Regions from separate parts of the Homo sapiens genome. Here all the other regions are linked to region 3. Evidence: promoter capture Hi-C in human tissues and cell types (Jung and others, 2019). All regions are on one chromosome and are shown on one strand. The core of a region is centred on a gene start or on the middle of the fragment in contact, and the rest is flanking DNA. Distances in the headings are between cores, read along the strand shown. Region 1 overlaps LOC107983960 (a long non-coding RNA gene). Region 2 overlaps LOC101927711 (a long non-coding RNA gene). Region 3 holds the start of MAP10 (microtubule associated protein 10).

The links. Contacts are between HindIII fragments. The study calls those that stand out against the background at their distance.
Region 1: a fragment that was not itself captured here is called in contact with the fragment with the promoter of MAP10 in region 3 in 1 of the 25 tissues and cell types used here (neural progenitor cells).
Region 2: a fragment that was not itself captured here is called in contact with the fragment with the promoter of MAP10 in region 3 in 1 of the 25 tissues and cell types used here (mesenchymal stem cells).

The regions. Positions count from the first base shown.
Region 1 is chr1:232,752,406-232,756,357 of GRCh38, forward strand. It overlaps LOC107983960 (a long non-coding RNA gene), which reads left to right. Exons shown (of 5, transcript XR_949277.1): 4 at 1,833-1,900. Among named protein-coding and RNA genes, the nearest start is that of LINC01744, 12 kb to the left of the region's middle. The HindIII fragment of the contact is 6,788 bases long and covers 1-3,952 here.
Region 2 is chr1:232,860,954-232,864,895 of GRCh38, forward strand. The region is part of intron 4 of LOC101927711 (a long non-coding RNA gene); the gene reads left to right. Among named protein-coding and RNA genes, the nearest start is that of MAP10, 58 kb to the left of the region's middle. The HindIII fragment of the contact is 7,376 bases long and covers 1-3,942 here.
Region 3 is chr1:232,803,721-232,807,326 of GRCh38, forward strand. MAP10 (microtubule associated protein 10) reads left to right here and starts at 1,696. Exons shown (of 1, transcript NM_019090.3): 1 at 1,696-3,606. The coding sequence starts at 1,730. RefSeq lists enhancers at 1,491-2,088, 1,800-1,879, 2,089-2,685. The HindIII fragment of the contact is 7,984 bases long and covers 1-3,606 here.

The DNA of each region.
Region 1 (3,952 bases), core at 98-2,597, 52 kb before region 3:
CTATGTTGTCTCTGTCACAACTACTCAATCTGCCAGGGTAGTAGGCAAGTAGTCCCTGACAATATACAAAGAAGAAAGGGTTTATTTACAAAATACTATACAAACAAGAAAGAGTTTATTTACAAAATTCACCTTTACTTACAAAAATAGGTGGTGGACTGGATTCGGCCCATGGACTACAGTTTAGTGTAGTTTAGTGACCTGTGACCTAAAAGATAAAGTTAAGGAAATATTCCAAAACATACAGCAAAAAGATAAAAAGATGGGGAAAGAGTTCAAAGACAGGAAAGCTCATTTCAAGAGTTCCAACATATCTAATATGGTTTCAGAAATAGAAAAAAATTAAATGGAGAAAATTATAAAGAAAAATAAAAATTTATCATAGCTGAAGAGAAACATAGATTTTTTTTTTTACATAAAAAGAGCCACCCACATATATTATAAGAGAAATAATAATCCCTAAGCAATATAAATTGATAAGATGCATCTAGAATGTATCTTTTTTTTTTTTTTTGAGACATTCTCACTTTGTCATCCAGGCTGGAGTGCAGTGGTGCCATCATGGCTCACAGCATTCTCCCACCTCATCCTCCTGAATAGCTGGGAACACAGGTGCATGCCACCATGCATGGCTAATTTTTGTATTTTTTGTAGAGACAGTCTCACTATGTTATCCATGCTGGTCTCATACTTCTAGGCTCCCACAGTCTTCCCATCATGGCCTCCCAAACTAATGGAATTACAGGCATGAGCCACTGCACCCAGGCTAGAATGTATCTTTATGAAGTCTTAGAGCTATAGAGAATACAGATATTTCGAAAAACTCCTAGAGGAAAAATAGATTACCTATGTAGAAATTAGAATTATGTTGTCATCGAAATTCTTATTGGCAAAACTGTATGTTGAAAAAAAATCTGGGCCGGGCGCAGTGGCTCACACCTGTAATCCCAGCACTTTGGGAGGCTGAGGTGGGTGGATCACAAGGTCAAGAGATCGAGACCAGCCTGGCCAACATGGTGAAACGCTGTCTCTACTAAAAATACAAAAATTACCTAGGCATGGTGGCAGGGACCTATAGTCCCATCTACTTGGGAGGCTGAGGCAGGAGAATTGCTTGAACCCAGGATCAGAGGTTGCAGTGAGCCGAGATCGTGCCACTGTACTCCAGCCTGATGACACAGCGAGATTCCACCTCAAAAAAAAAAAACAAAAAAAAAAAACAGTCAGGCATGGTGGCTTATGACTGTAATTCCGGCACTTTTGAGGCCAAGGTGGTAGGATCTCTTGAGCTCAGTAGTTGAGGCTGCAGTGAGCTGTGATTGCACCACTGCACTCCAGCCTGGGCAACAGATTTGGACCCTATCTCAAAATAAAAACATTCTGAGATGTTCTGAGGAAAAATTATTTTTAAACCAATTGTTTCATATCCAACCAAAAAGCATTCAAATGGTAGGGCAATGATATAAAAGTATTTGTAAACATTCAAGAACTCAGAAACAGACCTTCTCTAGAGTTAAGATTTGTTCAAAGATTATTTACTACAAAAAGACAATTTGATCTAAGAAAAAAATTACATAAAATATAGTTTAAATAATGGTGTGTAAAGTATCCAGGATAATTTATAGGTAAGTTCAATAAAATACATGGTGATGCCATCAAACCTTCAACTTTTTCTTAAGTTCAGGTTGCAATTTGCCTCTCTACCCCACCCTCCCAACAGTTTTATGTCGTGTGTAGACATCGCGCCATTAAATCCAGTAATAACTCACTGTCAGATATATTACATACATGCTAGCACTTAGATCAGCATCTCTCTGTCCTGGATCCCCCAGGTGATATGGAGGTGATCCTGGCCTGAATAAGGTTTGATGCCTGAGGTGGGCTGAGAATGACTTCAAAGGTATGTTCACATCTTAATTCTGGAAGCCTGTAAATGTGACCTCATTTGGAAATAGGGTCTGTGCAGATATGCCTAAGTTAAAGATCTTTAGGTAAGACAGTCTTCACAAGCATCTTTATAAGGGAGAGACAGACGCAAACAGAGGAGAAGGTGATGTGAAGTTGGAGGCAGAGACGGAAGTGCTAAGGAAGGCTGAGGACGTGCAGCAATGTTGGCAACACCAGAAGCTGGATATGGTGAACAGAGAACTCCCTTAGACCCTCTGGAGGGAGCCTGGCCCTGCTGGCACATTAATCTCAGACCTGGCTTCCAGCACTCTGAGAGGGAAATTTTTGTTAATTTACCAAATGTGTAGTAATTTGTCATCACAGCCACAGGAAACGAATACAATACCCTTTAACTGACACCACACATAAATACACACTCTCTACAGAACTGTGTTACTCCCCATCTCCGGCTTTGTTATGCCTGTACTTGGCTATGTTACTGCCCATATCTGGCTATGTTACTCCCCCCATCTCTGGCTATGTTACTTCTCATATCTGGCTATGTTATTCCAACCATCTCTGGCTATGTTACTGCCCCATATCTAGCTATGTTACTCCCCATATCTGGATATGTTAACTCCCCCATATGTGGCTATGTCACTCCCCATATCTGGCTGTGTTACTCCTCCCATATTTGGCTAAGTTACTTGCCACCAATGGCTATGTTACTCCCCTGATATCTGGCTATGTTACTTCCCCATATGTGGTTATGTTACTCTCTCCATATCTGGCTATGTTACTCCCCATCTCTGACTATGTTACTACCTCTATATTTGGCTGTTACTCCCGTCATATCTGAGTATGTTACTCATCATCTCTGGCTGTTACTCTCACATATGTGTCAGGGTTTCCCCATATCTGGTTATGTTACTTCCCACATATCTGGCTAAGTTACTATTCCATATGTGGCCATGTTACTCTCCCCATCTATGGCTATATTACTCCCCTCATATATGGCTATGTTACTTCCATCATAGATGGCTATGTTACTCCCTAATATGAGGCTATGTCACTCTCCCCATATCTGGCAAGTTACTCTCCATCTCTGGTTATGTTACTCCCCCATATGTGGCTATGTTAGTCTCATCATATCCAGCTATGTTACTCCCCATATGTGGCTATGCTACTCTCCCCATAACTCGCTATGTTACTCCCCTTCTATCTAGCTATGTTAGTCTCACCATATCCGGCTATGTTACTCCCCATATGTGGCTATGTTACTCTCCCCATAACTGGCTATGTTACTCCCCTCCTATCTGGCTATGTTACTTCCCTAATATGTGGCTATGTTGCTCCCCAGGTAAGGCTATAACACTCTCCACATATCTGGCTAAGTTACTCAGCGTCTCTGGCTATGTTACTCCCCCATATGTGGCTGTGTTACTCTCCCCAACTTTGGCTATGTTACTCCCCTCATATGTGGCTATGTTACTCTCCCCATATATGGCTATGTTACTCTCCCCATAACTGGCTATGTTACTCCACCATTTGTGGCTATGTTACTCTCTCTGTATCTGGCTATGTCACTCCCCTCATATCTGGCTATGTTGCTCCCTACGTAGATGGCTATGTTACTCTCCTCATGTCTGCCTATGTTACTCCCCTTATATATGGCTATGTTACTCTCCCCATATCTGGCTATGTTACTCCACCATTTGTGGCAATATTACTCTCCCCGTATCTGGCTATGTTACTCCCCCATATCTGGCTATGTTGTTCCCTTCATAGATGGCTATGTTACTCTCCCTATATGTGGCTATGTTACTCTCCCCATATCTGGCTATGTTACTCCCCATATGAAGCTATGTCACTTTCCCCATATTTCTAAGTTAATCCCCATCTCTGGCTATGTTACTCTCCCAAATGTGGCTATGTTTGTCTCACCGTATCTGGCTATGTTACTCCTTCATATGTGGCTATGTTACTCTCTCCATAACTGGCTATGTTACTCCCTCATATGTGGCTATGTTACTCCCCCATATGAGGCTATGACAATCTCCACATC
Region 2 (3,942 bases), core at 198-2,697, 57 kb after region 3:
GACATAATAATGTCTTCCAATAAGAAGTTCTTACAAAGGGAGGGTGCTCTGGAGTGTGCAGTACACAGTCTTTTTGAATGATAGTCAGTGTAGCAGACATCTGTCTATAGGCTGCAGGGCTCTTGTCCCAGAAAGGGGACAGAGATGATATAAGTAGAAACCCAGAATCAGCAGTGTGCTGGGATCCTAGACCAGAACCTAGAAGTAATGCCCAGGAGGGAAGCTTGATTAGAGAAACGGAGTTACCACATCAGGTCAAAGTAGCAGCAACAGCAACAACAAACGTTATGTGTATGCATGGGTGTGTCATGCATGTATGAGTGTGTCTGTGTGTATATATATGTGTGTGTGTATATGTGCATATCCTTTGAATATCACCTTTGGAACTGGCCTAATGCCTCCTGCCTCAGACCAAAATTGATTCCAGGGACAAAGCACATTGCTGAGCCTGCAGTGAGAATTACCTGGTTCCAGCCATGGGGGAGAGAACATTCGCAAAGGCAGGATGGAGACCTGCGGCCTAAGCTGGCTGGCAGAATCTCTATAGGGTTTGTGGGCATCTTCACAAACAGGCTGGATAAACTGTCATGATTCTTATTTGGCAGTTTATACAGTGGCAAATTGATTTTTTGTTTCTCATGGCTATCCACTGAAAATGCCCAGGGATGCTCAAGGATAACAGAAGAATGTGTGAAATCACTGACTCCTAAGCCTTGTTCTAATGATGATTGGTGACTGCTGGGCAGAGCTGTTGTCGTGCAGAATGGCACAAGGTTGATTTTGCTTAAACAAGCCAGGGAATATACCTAGATGGCCAATCAAGGAATTTTCTATGTGAGAATGTTATTCTAAAAGCCTAATCTCTGTTTGATTTATAATTGTTAAAGATTTCCAGTAGCACAAGAATCCTGTTCTCTCTACATTGAATGCAGGTTCTTCTCATTGGCCATACCTGTAGAAGTGTCAGAGGTTCAACTCAGAAATAGTGAAAACTGGATTTTAACAACACTGTATGGTCTTTTAAACTTTCGTTTGCAAATATTTAAGCAACAATTTCCTTCTTGGTGCTCCGTGAAGCTGGAATAGAACTGAGAGTTCGTGCTTTGTTCAGTTGTGTATAAAATGTAGTAAGGTCACAGTCATTTAGGAAGCAACCCTGGGGCCTCTAAAAACTACTAGGCCGCGCGTAGTGGCTCACACCAGTAATTTCAGCACTCTGGGAGGCTGAGGTGGGCAGGTTGCATGAGTCCAGGAGTTTGAGACCGCCCTGGGCAACATAGATAAACCCCGACTCTACTAAAAATACAAAAAATTAACCAAGTGTGGTAGTGTACGCCTGTAATCACAGCTACTCGAGGAGTTGGGGTGGGATAATCACCTGAGCCCAGGCGGTCGAGGCTACAGTGAGCCGAGATTGTGCCATTGCACTCCAGCCTGGGCAACCAGAGTGAGAACATGTCTAAAAAAGAAAACTCTGGGTGTGGTGGCTCATGCCTGTAATCCTAGCACTTTGGGAGGCCGAGGCAGGAGGATTGCCTGAGCTCAGGGGTTCGAGACTAGCCTGGGAAACACGTTGAAACCCCGTCTCTACTAAAATACAAAAATTTAGCCAGGCGTGGCAGTGTGTGCCTGTAGTCCTAGCTTACTCGGGAGGCTGAGGCAGGAGAATTGCTTTAAGCCAGGAGACAGAGGTTGCACAGTGAGCTGAGATCGTGCCACTGCACTCCAGCCTGGGCAACAGAGCAAGACTGTCTCCAAAAAAAAAAAAAAATTAAAAATTACCCAGGCTTAGTGATGCATGCCTGTAGTCCCAGCTACTCAGGAGGCTGAGGTGGGAGGATTGGTCAAGCTCGAGGCTGCAGTGCGCTGTGATTGCGCCACTGCACTCAGCCTGGGTGACAGAGTGAAACCCTGTCTCAAAGACAAAAAAAAACGAAACCAACCAACAAACTCCACCACCACCAACACAACTCTACTATTTGTGAAGGCTTTTAAGCTGTGTTTGCATCACCCTCCCAAACAGCTCATTTCAATATAAATGATCACTTGGAAGGATCAGTCAAGTTAATTTAACGGCTTGATTTAAATGTACAACAATCAATGAACTGATTTGAAGTTGTATGCTCAGTGAAATGTCTTGAATAGGGCTTTGACTTCCATCAAAGTTTGGCTTTGTAATGCAATAGAATGGTATTGATTATGTTAGATCTTATTAGCAACTTTTGATATCTTTGACCTCCAGTTAGATAGTTAAACATTAGAAATCTGCCTGAATTAAGTACTAAACATGGATAAATTTTGTTCTAAAGTAGTTTCTATCTTTAAGAAGGTACAGAATGGCATAGTTCTGTTCTTCTTATAATTAATAAGAATTAAATGATCGACTGGTTTCTGAAGTTGGATGCTGGATCTATCACAACCTCCTTGAGTATAAGCTAGCAGAATGGCTAGGTAGCAAAGGACCGTAAAAGGGATGCTTGTCATCCGGGCAAAGGTGGCCTTAGAATTAAGAAAGTCTTTGAGTTCCCTTATCTTTTCTCTCACCTTTCTAGTATATACCCAAAGACAAATGTACAGATTATTTTTACTGTTTTTATAATTGAAATACAAAAAAAGAGAAAATTCTGGCAACTTCAGAAACCACCTTGTTAGTTTATTGTGGGTATCCATCATTGTATAAACCAATTTAATAGGGTGCTATGGTTGCCAAAGAGTCTGATCTCCAGATTTTCTCAGCACTTCCCATCTGCTCACACAATAGCCAGAAGACGTTTGCTTTCCTGGAGATAGCATAATGCTTTAAAACTGCCTGAAGAAATCTACCCACCCAAGCTGTTTTAATAAGGTTAAGTGTGTAAAATATTCATCCCACAGGATATATGCCCATATGCCGTCTTATCATTAGTCATAAAAAACAAACACTTAATTATTCCGATCTCTAAGGTCCATCTTTGTGGTTAGGCTCCGAGGGACTCCATGAACCAGGGGGTCTTATTTATCAGTGACAGTGTCTCTATCCAGACTTACTCCATGTTGTCATGGTATTTTATTTGTCTAGCCATCTTGTAAATGCTTATTCCTTGCTGTCAACCATCTCAACATGCTTGGAGGCAGATGGGCCCCTGGCACTCTCCATGGTATTCTTCACATCTCCTCTTGGGCTGTCATATGCTCTCAAACACGCATAGGGAACGCTGAAATTTTGCTCTTTCTTCTAGAGAGTCTAGAGAGCCAGGAAGGAAGTTGTTGCTTACAGACCTGCAATAAGAAGACCATAAACTGTGTCGGGCGCGGTGGCTCACGCCTGTAATCCCAACACTTTGGGAGGCCAAGGCAGGCAGATCACAAGGTCAGGAGTTCAAGACCAGCCTGGCCAACATGAGGAAACCCCATTTCTACTAAAAATACACAAATTAGCTGGGCATGGTGGCCGGTGCCTATAATCCCTGCTACTCGGGAAGCAGAGGCAGGAGAATCGTTTGAACCCGGGAGGCAGAGATTGTAGTGAGCTGAGGTCACGCCATCGTACTCCAGCCTGGGCGACAGGCTGAGACTCTGTCTCAAAAAAAAAAAAAAAAAAAGAAGACCATAAACTGTTGCTTGGAATCCTACTTCCTCGGGCCTCTGAAAGACCCTCCGGTGATATTTCCCTTATGTCCTTATTCACAGTCATCACCCACATTAGGCACTGAATGGAGAGAGAATAGGTGCATGTATCATTAAGATTACATTTTCCCAGAGGCAAAGTTGTCTGCACTTTCTTTTTGCAGTAATTTTAAATCAGCATGCATTTCAAATAGTACATGTATATTTCTACAGCAGACATCTTTATATACCTAGTTAGGTATAATAAAACTATTAGATACCTATTTATATCTTAAATAAAATATATTTATTATTATATATCTATTTAAATTACCTATTAGATACTTTAATATACTA
Region 3 (3,606 bases), core at 446-2,945:
CATATCCCTCCAGTTCTGAATTTCTCTTGAGCTTCACAATGTTCTTCTGAGCACTGAAGCAATATAATTTAACTATAATTTATAAAGCTGAATAAAGCGGTACATATATAATGCCCAGCAGCAGGTACCTCAAGCTTTACATATCTCAAAACTCAAAGTATTTTTTTCCGTCAAATCTGTGCCTCCTCAATATTTTCACCTTCAGTAGCAGAAGTTTTTCACCCATGACTTTTCTTTCCCATTCACCAAATTTTAAAATTCCTCCATCACAAATGCCTCTTCTGCCACCTCTTTTTAATTTCCACTAGTCCTGACCATGTGCAGGTCATAATTATCTGCCTCTTAGACCACTGCAGTAGTCTTCTAATAGATTGCTCTGAATCCAATTTCTAATTAGTAGAATCCATCCTTTGTATTCCTCCCCATGATACATTTCCAAATATTGCTATGATGTACTTATTCAATCAAAAAAATTTGGACAGAATATAGTCCAAATTCTTTACCATGGCATTCAAGGCTCTCCAAAAACTGGCCTTGGATTCCTAGCTGGCTAGCTCATTGAGGTTAGGAGTATGTTTCTTAAAATATCTGGATAGAGCAGCAAGTTCTGTGTGTCTCTGTAGATGTGTGTATATTTATGTACACACATTTGTTTTATTGATGGAATCATTAACATTACTCTCATGCATCATGATTGCTTAGCTGGAAATGTTGTCAAATAAAAAACAGGGCCAGACAGTAGTTGAAGTGGCAAAAACACTGTAGTCAGGAACTACTGCAATAAGAGAAAAGAGACCTCAATACAGAGCTGGGCTCAATTCCAATTACAGCATGGACAAGTGGGGATTTAAAGCCAAGGGGGCGTCAGGTCAAGTGGATGGAAACTTACTGATAGGGAACATCACGGGTGGGAGGGTTCTGATTAAGCAGGCCTAATAGGATTCTTGCTGAAGCCAGGCCAGGGTGGTCAGATACCAATGATAGAAAATGAAGAATTTGATCAGGTATCGACGGTAATCAGGTATGAAGGGTTGGGGGTTCTCTCTCAACAGCCGTAGCGAGACCTTTGCTACAACTCGGTGATCCAGGGTCCACAGGATTGGAAGCCAAGGTCAAGGCCTAGTCGGAAAGAAGGCTTAGATGAGCCTGACCAAAGTTCAGCCAAGGAGAGTTTTTGCCAGTGTATTCACACTCCGTGTGTGTGTGGTGTGTCTGTCTCAGTACTACTGTAATTGATGAGGCAGGGGCTCCCTGGCCATCCCAGCAGTGTCACCATCTTTTGGGTAGAACAGCAGACACAGAGATGGCCCACTGTGGACAGTTAACTAACTGGCTCTGTTTAGCATGGGAAAGGAAGGAGAGTCCTGATTTTCTTTCAATATTCCTCAGGTATATTGATCTGACCCCCAAGTTACATAAGATCTGCAGTGATAAAACCATTACCCAAAAAACTCACTGTCTTTTACCACTTATATCCTCAGCATTATCATCAATTGTCTTAATACAAGGTTGGTGGCAAAAAACGGCTCACAAGTATGCATACAAAGGGGCCAAACACATTGAGCAGCAAAACCCCCAAAGCAGACACCGCCCGAGACCCGCTGGAGCGCTTCCGCAAATCTCGCGAGATAGCAGGCAGCGATGCCTTTTGCTCCGGTTTCTCGTGAGACCCCGGGGCTTCAGCTTCTCGTTTGCGGAGCCCGCGGCGGCGTTTCCTGGGGCAACAGCAATGGCGGCCTCGCTGTCCGAGCGGCTCTTCTCGCTGGAGCTGCTGGTGGACTGGGTGCGTTTGGAAGCCCGGCTGCTGCCGTCCCCCGCTGCCGCAGTGGAGCAGGAGGAGGAAGAGGAGGAAAAGGAGCAGGGGGAGGCCTCGTCGCCGCGCGGTCTGTGCCCCGCCGTGGCCTTCCGCCTGCTGGACTTCCCCACGCTGTTGGTTTACCCTCCTGACGGCCCCGGCGCTCCCGCCGCCGAACCGTGGCCCGGTGTCATCCGCTTCGGTCGCGGCAAGTCCTGCCTCTTCCGCCTGCAGCCTGCTACCCTGCACTGCCGGCTCCTGCGGACCCCGCTTGCCACCTTGCTGCTGCAGCTGCCCCCTGGGCGCCCGACGCCCACCCCACAGCTCCTGGGGGCCTGCGACATTTCGCTGGCCACCGCAGCGCACAGGGTCGTGGGGCCGGCCGCCTCCGGATGCTCCCACCGTCACCGGGGACGTTTCCCCCTGCATAATCGAGTGGGCGAGCGGACTGGGGACATTGCACTGGCCTACCGCCTGACTGACCTGGGAAGCCGCCTGCTGAGCCAACTTGAGCGGCCCCTCACCTTCACCCGCACAGGAGGAGGAGCGGAGGTCAGTCCCCAAACCCAGCAGGAAAGACAGCAGCTGCAGCAGCCAGCCTCACAGCCAAGCCCAAAAGAGGCTGATAAGCCGCTGGGGGAGTTAGAAATCCCAGAGGCACAGAAGGATTTGAAGGAAATGGTTAAAAGTAAGGCCGAATGTGATAATGTGGGTTCTGTGGAGAATGGCAAAACCAATTCTGTTGTTACATGTTCAGGTGCTGGCAATGGGAGAAATGTTAGCTCCCTAAATGAGGAAGTCACAGAATTGGACATGGAGACCAATATATTTTGCCCTCCTCCTTTGTATTACACTAACTTGACCCAAGAAAAACCGCCCCCTGCACAGGCTAAAATCACCATTGAGCCTCAAATGAATGCACCTGAGGAAATGGATGATGCTTCTCCTGAAAAAAAGCGTGTAAATCCCCCAGCACACAGGAGTTGTCTAAAGCATCCAAGTTCTGCAGCACACGAACATCCTCCAATGCTTGTAAATCCTCCACATATTCAGAATATAGGAGCAACTAATCAAACATGTCAAACTGAACAAAATCGAATTAATACAATAAGGCAGTTGCCTTTGTTAAATGCTTTGTTAGTTGAGTTGTCCTTGTTATATGACCAACCTGTGACAAGTCCTGCTCATATACATCCTCACCTAGCCTGGTTATATAGGACTGAGGATAAGAAGTCACCCGAATCTTCTGCCAAATCCACATGCCGGTCTGAAGCCAAGAAGGATAAGCGTTCTGTGGGGGGATGTGAAAAGTCAGTGAGTCTTCAGTATAAAAAGAACCAAATTGAAAACTATAAGGAAGATAAATATTCTGAAAAGAGCAGTGGTGCCCTCCATAAAAGAGTTCCAAAAGGGAGGCTACTTTATGGCTTAACAAATACACTAAGACTACGTTTAAAGCTGACAAATCCTGATATGTTGGTGGTACATGAAAAAAGAGAACTATATAGAAAAAGACAATCACAAATGTTGGGTACAAAATTCAGAATTCCGTCATCCAAAGTTAAACTATTAAGCTCTGCAGAACAAAGTCAGAAGCCACAACTGCCTGAAGATAAGTATTTAGATTCAGATGCATCTTTCACTGAAAATAGTGATACCTCAAGACAAATCAGTGGAGTTTTTGATGAGCCCAGCACAAGTAAAGAAACTAAACTGAAATATGCAACTGAAAAAAAGACAGTTGATTGTAGTAAAAATAGAATCAATAATGTTTCATTGGAAGAAGTTGTGAGTCCTGCAAATTCCATTAT